Linked DNA regions of Homo sapiens: regions 1, 3 and 4 are each linked to region 2. Evidence: promoter capture Hi-C in 16 types of primary human blood cells and fetal thymus (Javierre and others, 2016). All regions are on one chromosome and are shown on one strand. Each heading gives the region's core, a stretch centred on a gene start or on the middle of the fragment in contact. The rest is flanking DNA. Distances are from core to core; before and after follow the strand shown.

The links. Contacts are between HindIII fragments. The CHiCAGO score rates a contact against its expected background, and 5 or more counts as called.
Region 1: a contact is called between a fragment that was not itself captured here and the fragment with the promoter of EPB41L2 in region 2, in 4 of 17 cell types (non-activated CD4 T cells, fetal thymus, total CD8 T cells and 1 more). The highest score is 5.8, in non-activated CD4 T cells.
Region 3: a fragment that was not itself captured here is called in contact with the fragment with the promoter of EPB41L2 in region 2 in 1 of 17 cell types (fetal thymus); the score reaches 7.7 in fetal thymus.
Region 4: a fragment that was not itself captured here is called in contact with the fragment with the promoter of EPB41L2 in region 2 in 2 of 17 cell types (total CD8 T cells and M1 macrophages); the score reaches 5.8 in total CD8 T cells.

The regions. Positions count from the first base shown.
Region 1 is chr6:131,517,795-131,520,494 of GRCh38, forward strand. No RefSeq gene overlaps it. Among named protein-coding and RNA genes, the nearest start is that of ARG1, 54 kb to the right of the region's middle. The HindIII fragment of the contact is 1,171 bases long and covers 721-1,891 here.
Region 2 is chr6:131,061,978-131,064,677 of GRCh38, forward strand. It overlaps EPB41L2 (erythrocyte membrane protein band 4.1 like 2), which reads right to left and starts at 1,268. Exons shown (of 20, transcript NM_001431.4): 1 at 1,178-1,268. It overlaps LOC105378004 (a long non-coding RNA gene), which reads left to right and starts at 1,426. Exons shown (of 3, transcript XR_942993.3): 1 at 1,426-1,639. RefSeq lists silencers at 725-824, 1,165-1,504. The HindIII fragment of the contact is 3,039 bases long and covers 1-2,700 here.
Region 3 is chr6:131,536,579-131,539,278 of GRCh38, forward strand. No RefSeq gene overlaps it. Among named protein-coding and RNA genes, the nearest start is that of ARG1, 35 kb to the right of the region's middle. The HindIII fragment of the contact is 9,527 bases long and covers 1-2,700 here.
Region 4 is chr6:131,565,030-131,567,729 of GRCh38, forward strand. No RefSeq gene overlaps it. Among named protein-coding and RNA genes, the nearest start is that of ARG1, 6.8 kb to the right of the region's middle. The HindIII fragment of the contact is 160 bases long and covers 1,300-1,459 here.

The DNA.
Region 1 (2,700 bases), core at 56-2,555, 460 kb after region 2:
TAAGTTCAGAATTTCTTTGTTGATTTTCTACCTTGATGATCTGTCTAGTGCTGTCAGTGGGGTATTGAAGTTCTCCATTATTACTGTATTGGTGTCTATTTTCTTTCTCAGGTCTAGTAGTATTTAAGAATCTGGGTGCTCTGGTGTTGCTATTGGGTGCATATATATTTAGAATTATTATCTCTTCTTGTTGAATTGATCCCTTTATCATTATATAATATGCTTCTTTGTGTTTTTTTTAACTGCTTTTGATTTAAAGTCTGTTTTGTCTGATTTAAGTATAGCTATCCCTGCTCACTTTTAGTTTCCATTTGTGTGAAGTATTTTTTCCACTCCTTTACTTTGAGTTTGTAAATATCTTTACCAGTTAGGTAGGTTTCTTGTATGCAGCATATCGTTGGATTTTGTTTTTAATCTGTTCCATCAGCCTATTTTTTTTTAATTAGAGCATTTATTTCATTTACGTTTAAGTCCATTTACATTTGAAATGTGAGGTTTTGTTCTTGTCATAATGTTAATTATTACCTAGTTGCTTTAAATTCTCAATTGTGTAATTGCTTTATGAGATACATGAGTTGTATACTTTCGTGTTTTTAGGAAGGTATCACCCTTTAATTTCCATGTTTAGAACTCCTTTGAGCATTTTTTGTAAGACCAGTTTAGAGGTGATGAATTCCCTGTGTTTGTCTGGGAAAGACTTTATTTCTCCTTCACTTATGAAGCTTAGTTTAGCAGGACATAAAATTCTTGGCTGGCATAACTTTTATTTAAGAAGAATGAAATTAAGACCCCAGCCTCTAATGGTTTGTAAGGTTTCAGCTGAGAAGTCTGCTGTTAATCTGCTGAGATTTCCTTTATAGGTAATTGTACTCTTCTCTCTTGCCACTTTCAGGATTTTTTCCTTCATGTTGACTTTGGATAGTCTGATACTTTCAGGATTTTTTCCTTCAGGTTGACTTTGGACAGTCCAATGACAATATGTCTTAGTGAGATTCTTCTTGCAATGTATTTTCCAGGAGTTCTCTAAACTTCACGTATCTAAATGTCTAGATCTCCAGCAAGACCAGGGAAGTTTTCCTGAATTATTTCCTCAACTATACTTTTTATACTTTTTACTTTTTCTTCTTCTCCTTCTGGAATACCTATAACTTGCAGGCTTGGTCCCTTTACATAGTTCCATATATCTCAAAGGCTTTGTTCACTATTATTAAGTTATTTTTTCTTTATTTTTGTCTGGCTGGGTTAATTCAAAAGACCTGTCTTCCAGGTCTAAAAGTCTTTTTTCTGCTGGGTAAAGTCTATTGTTGAAACTTTCAACTGCATTTTGTAATTTCTCCAACAAGTACTTTATTTCCAGAAGTTCTGTTTGGTTTTTGTTAATAATATCTATCTCTTATTTCATGTCCTAAATTTTTTTTTCCAATTTCTTTGTATTGGTTTTTACCTTTCTCTTGGATATCATTGAGCTTTTTTAAATTCAATATTTTGAATTCTTCATTTGGTCTTTCAACTATTTCATTTTGATTAGGATCTGTTGCAGGAGAATTATTGTGGTCCTTTGAGAGTATTGTAACACTCTGTTTTTTTTTTTCATACTTTCAGAATTGTTTCTCTGGTTCCTTCTCATCTGAATAAGCATTTTCTCCTTCTTATTTCTGAATTACTTTTGCTTGAATGGGACTTCTCCCCCCTCAAGCTGTCATGTGTGTTTTGTAGCATCCTTTGGGTTTGGTTCTGGGTGCTTTCAGCGGCAAAGGCTCTGTTTAGGTTCCATGGTTGTAGGTAATCTTTGTGTAGTGGATTTCTCAGATGCTGGTTGTAGTAGCAATGTACTGGGTATGTAAGCAGGCTCACTACCTCTTGAGAGGCTGGTATGGTGGAGGTCTCAGGAAGCTTATCTCATTCCCTAGTGCTGTGTGCTTGTGTCAACAGATTTTCTGTTGAGTTGTGCAGTTCATCCTTTAGGCCAGTGGGTGGCACTTATGGATAAGAGCTAATTGTGGCTGACACCGATATAGGCTTGATCTTTGTTTACCCTGAGATGTCTTCTGCTGCCTCATGCAATGGGCAATTTTGTGGAATGTACAGTGGTCTAAGCTCCCTGCTCACTCCCCAGATGGAGGTATCAAGCTGGGCAGGGCCAGACCAGCCAAGCCTGCCTATACATACCCCAATGGCAGGCATAAGTGCTAGGTTAAAAGGGAGTCTGGGAGGCAGCTGCCAACTGCCCATAGATGTGCCTGGGCATGGAGTGAAGAAATCTCCACTTCCCCAAGTTCTCTGCCCAGGAAAGGAGGGACAACCTAGACTCTCAATCTAGAAAAGTGGATGCTCCAAATGCCTGGAGATATGTCCAGGGTGAGCCAAATACCTGGAAATATGTCCCCCAGAGAGGAAAGGAGTACCTGCTGCAGAGTGGAGTAACTGCTGCTACAACAGGATCTTGGCGAGGGAGTGGGGAGTGGGTGTGGGGGTGGGAAGAGGCAGCTCAGGCTCCTATTTCAGGCAAGCAGGTACACTGAGTGACTGGAAATATACCCAGTTGTGAAGTGGAGGGTTTGCTGCTGCACCAAGTTCTTTGCAAGGGAAGGGAGGTGTGGTTCACACTCCAAATCCAGTCAAGCAGTGCTGGGGTCCACATGCCTCCACTGGTTGCTTGAAACTGGTGGGATAAATTCCTTCAACTAAGGGAGGAGCGTG
Region 2 (2,700 bases), core at 18-2,517:
TGATTCAGAAAAGCGAAAATATAGCCACAGCTCCTCTAGATTCCACCTTCTCTCCCATCCACCCAGGGATCTTAAAATTAAGGGCAGCTGTGGTGTTGATGGGGCAATTCAATGAAAGACTACCCGGGTCCGTAGGGAGGGCTCCATACGCAGACCCCTCCCCAAAATAATAGACTCTAGGCAGTAGTTCTTCTCACCAAACCTCATTTTATTTATACATATATATAAAAAAAAAAACTTGACCTCAGGGGAGGTGAGCGATCTAGAGAAGCATAACTGATGTCCCACCACAGACCTCAGGCTGCTGGGGGCAGCGTCTGCGCCTGGGGATGGCGTCCCCAGACGCCGACTTCAACCCTGTCGCGCTCCTTTAGGTTCTCCTCGCCCTTCCCCGCTGCTCACCTAAAAATGCTCCCAACCCTCGGCCCCCAGGCGCAGGAGGAGAAAAAACAAGCCATCTGTGGTGAGATGGCCTGGGTGTGGGAATTGTAAGGATCGGAGCACGAAACACGCGTCCCTCTCCGCAGCTCCCAGACGGCGCAGGCGGCAGCTGGGGGCGCGGACGCGAGCCTACAGCGGGCCCGACCCGCACCGCGCGTGGGGCTGGCGCGCCGCCCTCGCCCGGCTTCCCGCAGTCCCCACGCGCGCGGCCGGCCCGCGCTTCCCCTCCTAAAACCTTCCTCCTGAAGGGCGACGCCGCGGCCGACCCCCTCCCCGCGGGGGGGATGGAGCCGGATTTTTCCCGCTGTTGCTCCACGGGGCCCGGACGCGTGACCTGAGCCCACGGCACCCCGGGGGGGACGGCGTCCTCCCCGTGCCCCCGCCTTTCCTGGCTCCGCCGGGACGCGGCCCCGGTCCCCCGGAAGAGGGAAGAGGGGGACCGCGGGGAGCAGCGAAGCCGGGATCCGGCCCGGAGCAACAGGACCCGGACCCCCGGGCAAGAATCGGGTCGGGCAGAGACCGGGAAGGAAAGGAGAGAGGGAGCCGCAGAAAATCCCAAAGCCGGGCCCCCTCTCCCCGCCCCCCATCCCGGTGGGACCGTCCCGCCACCGCTTCCTGCCCGGAATCAGCTTCCCAGCTGCAGCCAGAGGAAAAATCTGAGCCGCCCCTGCAACCCCACACTGACCAGTCGCCCGGCCCGTGCAGCCCCGCACGCCTCCTTACCCCGACGCCGTACCTCAGGAGCTCGCTCGCCGCGGGACCCGTCCCTCTTCAGTCCCAGCCGCCGGCAGCCGCGCCTGCCTCCTCCCTCCGCTAGGTTTCAAATTGAAATTCCCTGACTGGGGCCGTCAGAGGACTCTGAGGGCCGGCCCCGCCCCCTCGCGGCGGAAGCCCCTCCCGCGACCCCGCCGGACGAGCCCCCGGCGCGGAAACCCCCGCGGGCGGTCCCGCCCCCGACGCCCAGGCCCCGCCCCTGCGCGGGCGGGGGACCTTTCCCGCGGGATTCGGCAAGCGCGGCCGCGGAGACCCGGGGGTGGAGGACGTCTTTCGCCCTCAGGGCAGCCCGGATGACAGCTAATGCGCCTGGGCAAGGCGTTCTCAACTGCGATTCCCGGCCTTAAATGTCCTCTCAACTTTTAAAAGTTATTTATTCAAAGTGCATTTGCTGACTAAACCTTCACTGAGCGCCTTCCTAGAGGTAAACACTGGAGCAGAGCCTGGAGATGCAGAATAAGGAAAACTGGGTCTCCCTCAGTCTAGAGTGGAAAAAGTGCTTTCACAGGAAGGGCATTGAAAAGGAACCATTTATTCTTCCTGTGGGAGGGACAGGAGGGGTTGGGGAAACCCCGTGGAGGAAAGGCCTCCCCAGAGTAAGTAGGATTTCTCTGGGCAGAGGCCTGGGAATCTGGATTGCAGAGCATGACCACGGGTGAAGAAGAGTCTGGAAAAAACCTAGTTTGGGGCTAAATTGTGGAAAGCCACAAGCACACACACGCTACCCTTCTGGTTCTTTTCTTTTGTACAATGAGGTCAATATGTTTCAGATTCAATATATTTCATCTTTTGAAGGTTTGCACGTCAAGCTGGTGTCAAACAACGTGTCCAGCTCACTGCCTCCAGCATCTGCCTCACACGCACCTCTTATCCCTTTTACTCCTCCCACTTTTATTGAGGTCTTTAGTGATTCCACCACAGCCAAAGTCGTCTCCCTTTCTTTCCTAAACAGAACCTTTTCCAAAATTAACAATGTCAAATGAAACCTCAGTAACAATACCTTCCAGTTAACAAAATACATTCACATATTTTATCATCATTTGATCCTCACAATCACCCTATGAAAAAGGCAGGCACGTTTGAGCTCCATTACATCAAAAAGATTTGGGAAGATAAATTATTTGCCAAGGTCCTTCTAGTAAATAATACAAATAATAATAGTTAAGGTTGATTGTGTGCTTTATGTGCTAGGCATTGTTCTAAGTCCCTTACATGTATTAATTTAATCACAATCCCATATGCTAAGTATACAAGTTAAATTTTATAAGGTGTGCTAAAACAGAGCAGAAATCTGATTAGACAGCAATTCTGGTAAAGGAGACCTGGGAATTTAATGAGAAAATACTATTATTTTCTCATAATAAGAAATATGCAGCAGATTTACAACGAAACTAATGAAACAAACTTCGGGATCTCTCATTTTCACAAGCCTTGAAACTAACTTTATAATTTTGTATTTCATTTTGTGTTTTTTAAAGAGTCCCT
Region 3 (2,700 bases), core at 86-2,585, 470 kb after region 2:
CCAAAACTGGATCCAATTTGAGACCACACATTGCATCTAACTGCCATTTCTTGCCCCTTTTAATCAGGCCAGTCACATTTTAATGACACTGTCTTGCTGAAGAGAATAACTCATAATGAAGAAAATACACCAAATTCTGGATGTCTCTGATTGTTTCTTTGTGGTATCATTTAGCTTGTTTCTGTACATTGGAATTTAGATATAAAGGCTCTATTAGATTTGGGCTAGACTACGTCACAGATGATGTGTTTTACTTCATATTGCATCTCATTAATAGGCCCACAATATCTGGTTGTCCACCAGTGGGATGCTGAGAGAGACCACTGAGAGTGGGGATAACATCTTGAACCCTCCATTGCAAGAAGAAACTAATCTCTGTGTGGTTATCATGGCCTCATATAGGTGTCTAGTTCCCTACCCATCATTCATCTAATAGTGTCAACACCAGTTCATGGCCTGACTGGTTGATTTAATTGTTGCCAAATGATTATTTCCTAATTCTGTCACTTCACATGTGTTGATTGGGGACATTCCTTATTAACTGGAGCTTTCTGTTTACCCTGTGATACAGTCCCTGCTTAAAAGAAGGATGAATTGTTTATTCTTTCCCATTACTCACAAATTTTGAGAATAAAGAATTAGTTTAATAATTATTTTAATTAGTGATATGTGATATCCTTTTTTTCTGACTTCCCCTTTTGTTAATGTCATTATAAACTCTGATTTTTAATAAATTTAATGAATTTCAAAAAACTACAATCAGGGCAGGGGTGGTTGTTCAAATGGTCACAAATGTAATCAGAAGACACTTTAAGCTGGCTTCTGAGTCCCTTTGATAGGACTCCATTAATCTTTATGAGTTTCTTTGCTTGCTTTTGGGCACAAGATCTGAATACCTTCAGTGGGGAATCATATAAGTACTTTGGTTTGAATGATGGTGCACTCACCAAAATTCATATGTTGAAACTGAACTGCCAATGTAGTAGTATTAAGAGATGGGGTCTTTAAGAGGTTATTAAGTCATAAGGGCAGAGCCTTCAAGGAGGGGGTTATAAATAGAACTTATAAATGGACTCGAGGGAGTGGGTTTGCTCTCTTCCACTCTTCTGCCATGTGAGGATGAAGCATTCCTCCTCTGTGGCCCTTCCATCCCTTCTACCACATAAAGACAGAGTGTTCCTCCTCTCTGGAGGTCACGGCAACAAAGCACCACCTTGGAAGAAGAGAGCAGCCCTCACCAGACAACTGAACCTGCTGGCACATTAATCTTGAATTTCCCAGCTTCCAGAACTGTGAGAAAATAGAACTGTGTACTTTATAAATCACCTGGTCTCAGATATTTTGTTATAGCAGCACAAACAGACTAAGACAGTCAAATTCACCTTTTTAAGAGAGCCAGTTGCTAATGCAGTGACATTGCATCTTGGATATACCATGGACAGAGTTGGAAGCTGGAAGATATACATTTTTAAGAACATGAGTTCATACTGATATTTTCAGCTTTAGCAATACAGTGTTTTTACTTGATTTCTTTAATTTTATAAATGTATCTCTTTCCTTTTGTATTTTTTCCTATAATGTAAAGAAAATAATTTTAAGAAACAATACCAATATTACCATTGAAAAAAGTTTAAAAATTTTTGTCAGTATTTTGTCCTTAGAATGCATCCCAAGCATTGCTGGTAAGATGGCCGAATAGGAACAGCTCTCGTCTGCAGTTCCCAGTGAGATTGATGTGGAAGGCGGGTGATTTCTGCATTTCCAACTGAGGTACCCAGTTCATCTCACTGGGACTGGTTGGACAGTGGGTGTAGCCCATGGAGGGTGAGCCAAAGCAGAGTGGGGCATCGCCTTACCCAGGGAGCACAAGGGGTCAAGGAATTCTCTCCCCTAGCCAAGGGAAGCCATGAGGGACTGTGCCGTGCCATGAGGAATGGTGCACTCAGGCCGAGATACTGCACTTCTCCCACAGTCTTCACAACTCGCAGACCAGGAGATTCCCTCCGGTGCCTCCACCACCAGGGTCCTGGGTTTCAAGCACAAAACTGGGCAGCTGTTTGGGCAGACACCAAGCTAGCTGCAGGAGGTTTTTTTTTCCACACCCAAGTGGTGCCTGGAACACCAGCAACACAGGACCATTCACTCCCCTGGAAAGGGGGCTGAAGCCAGGGAGCGAAGAGGTCTGGCTTGGTGGGCCCCACCCCCATAGAGCCCAGCAAGCTAAGATCCACTGGCTTGAAATTCTCACTGCCAGCATAGCAGTCTGAGGTCGATCTGGGGTGCTCGAGGTTGGTTGAGGGAGGGGCGTCCACCATTACTGAGCCTTGAATAGGGGATTTTACCCTCACAGTGTAAACAAAGCTACCAGGAAGTTCAAACTGAGTGGAGCCCACTGCAGCTCAGCAAGGCCACTGTGGCCAGACTGCCTCTCTAGATTCCTCCTCTCTGGGCAGGGTATCTCTGAAAAAAAAGGCAGCAGTCCCAGTCAGGGGCTTATAGGTAAAACCCCCATCTCACTGGGACAGAGCACTTGGGGGAAGGGGCAGCTGTGGGCACAGCCTCAGCAGACTTAAACATCCCTGCCTGACGGTTCTGAAGAGAGCAGTGAATCTCCCAGCACAGTGTTTATGCTCTGATAAGGTTCAGATTGCCTCCACAAGTGGGTCCCTGATCCCTGTGTATCCTGACTGGGAGACACTT
Region 4 (2,700 bases), core at 130-2,629, 500 kb after region 2:
TGATGGACACTTAGGTTGTTTCCAAATCTTGGTTTTTATGAATAGTGCTGCAATAAACATGGTAGGGCAGGTATCTCTTCAATATACTGATTTCCCTTGTTTTGGCTGTGAGATCGCTGGATCATGTGGTAGCTCTATTTTTACTTTTTTGAAGAACCTGTAAACTGTTCTCCACAGTGGTTGTACTAATTTACATTCCCACCAACAGTGTACGAGGGTTCCCTTTTCTCCACTTCCTCACCAGCATTTGTTATTGCTTGTCTTTTGGATGAAAGCCATTTTAACTGGGGTGAGGTAATATCTCATTGTAATTTTGATTTGCATTTCACTGATGATCAGTGATGTTGAGCACCTTTTCATAGGCTTGTTTGTCATTTGTATGTCTTCTTTTAAGAACTATCTATTCAAATCTTTTGCCCATTTTTTAATCGGGTGATTAGTTTTTTTCCTAGAGTTCTTTGAGCTCCTTAAATACTTTGGTTATTAATCCCTTGTCAGATGGGTAGTTTATAAATATTTTCTCCCATTCTGCAGGTTGTCTCTTCACTTTGTTGATGGTTTCCTTTGCTGTGCAGAAGCTGTTTAACTTGATCTGATCCTTTGTCTATTTTTGCTTTGGTGCCTGTGCTTGTGGGGTATATTACTCAGGAAATTTTTGCCCAGACCAACATCCTGGAGATTTTCCCCAATGTTTTCTTGTAGCAGTTTCATAGTTTTGAGGTCTTAGATTTAAGTCTCCTTAATGATTTTTAAGAGCGCCTTTTCATTAGGGCCATTGGTCCTTTGTTGCTCAAAGTGTTTCAAACATATACTTTTTCCTTTACTTTTTTATTTTTGCTTTACAGTATTTACAATTTTTTTCTCTTTTTTGGAGTTAGTGTCTTATATGTGGTGATGGTATCATGGATGTATGCATATGTCCAAGCTCATTAAAATGTATACATTAAGCCAGGTGCGGTGGCTCACGCCTGTAAATCCCAGCACTTTGGGAGGCCAATGCGGGTAGATCACAAGGTCACGAGTTCGAGACCAGCCTGACCAACATGGTGAAACCGCTTCTCTACTTAAAATACAAAATATTAGCCGGGCATGGTGGTATGAGCCTGTAATCCCAGCTACTCAGGAGGCTGAGGCAGGGGAATCACTTGAACCCAGGAGGTGGAGGTTGCAGTGAGCCAAGATCGCACCACTGCACTCCAGCCTGTTCAACAGAGCAAGACTCCATCTCAAAAAAAAAAAAAGCATACATTAGATATGTATATTTTTGTATATCAACTATAAATTGATAAATATTAATGAAGCTTACATTTCTCAATTTCATTGAGAAATTAAATCTATCAAGTTTATTAACTAGAATTCATTTTTTTTAAATAACATAAAATGATGGAAATAGACAATTACCATCTGGCAAATATCACAGCAGTAATTTACTTTAGTCAAGAATCATCAATGGATGCTAAGCTTAGTGGGTCAAAGTGTGATGACAAAGAGGATAATTATATAATATTAAAGTATTGCCCCCACAAGATACTTATTTATTACAAAGGAAAAATAGCAAATTTGCAGAGGAGAAACTTGAGAGGTACTACTTTAACCACGTGATTAAAGTAATGGGACAGTAATGGGACAGACCAACGTCAAATCCCTCCTAATGTGATACACTGAGAAGTACACCACATTACTTTTGTAGTATTCTTGAACAAATGCAAACCTTGAATTTAATTAAAGAAGACCTCGGATGAATTTAAGTTGAGAGACTCTTCAAAAGTCTGAAGTTGATGTAGGACAAAGAAAAACTGAGGAACTGTACCAGGGGAAAGGAGACTAAGATACATGGCAATTTTGGGGAAGCTGATCCTGAGTTAAGGGTACTGATCATATATTATTTTCCTGGATCCCAAATAGCAAACAGCATGGAAGCAAGCACTAAGTAAAATGATTATTTAGTAAATACTTATTGGCTGATTAATTATTAAAGAATCTAGATGTGTAGAGTCTTCTGACTTCATCAGCTCACCTCTTCCTTAGTAGGAATATTTGTTCCAAACCACCCACAGAATATAGGTGTGCAGTTAGGTATGCCAGAAGAATTCTGTCCTTCATCAGATGATTTATAGCACATAGGCTAAAAAAACTGAATAGCTTTGAAGGTGCTAGACTCTGCCAAGTGAAGATGTTCCACGATCTCAGCCATCACTCCAATTTATTTGTTCTTGATCCTGAAGAACTAAAGAGCAAGGCCTCCTTGCAGACATGTCTTCAGTCAAATCTTCAGAGAGTCTATACGGAGAATGGGTCTCCTATTTACTTCTCCATTTGGGAAATGTCACTCAAATATCATAAATTAAACTTCCCACTGAATTTTGTCTATTTTCAAAAATATACCTGTAGACTTTCAGCTTCTGAGAATGGGAAGCTCACATAAAAATAGCCAGGATTTCAGAGTCTCTGAGCCTACCCTGGCTCAGAAGGCTGCCCAACAACAACAACAACAACAACACAGCCAGGATTTTTGTAAAAAATTGATAAATAATACAAATTAACACATCCATCAGGCCTAGAAAATCCAAGAAGGATATATGAAATCCAAAAATGATATATAAAAATCTATACCAAGATACATCACACCAAGGCTACAGAATGTCAAAGTAAAAGAGAGAAATCTGAAAAACATCTAGATAAAACCACTGTCCTCCAGAA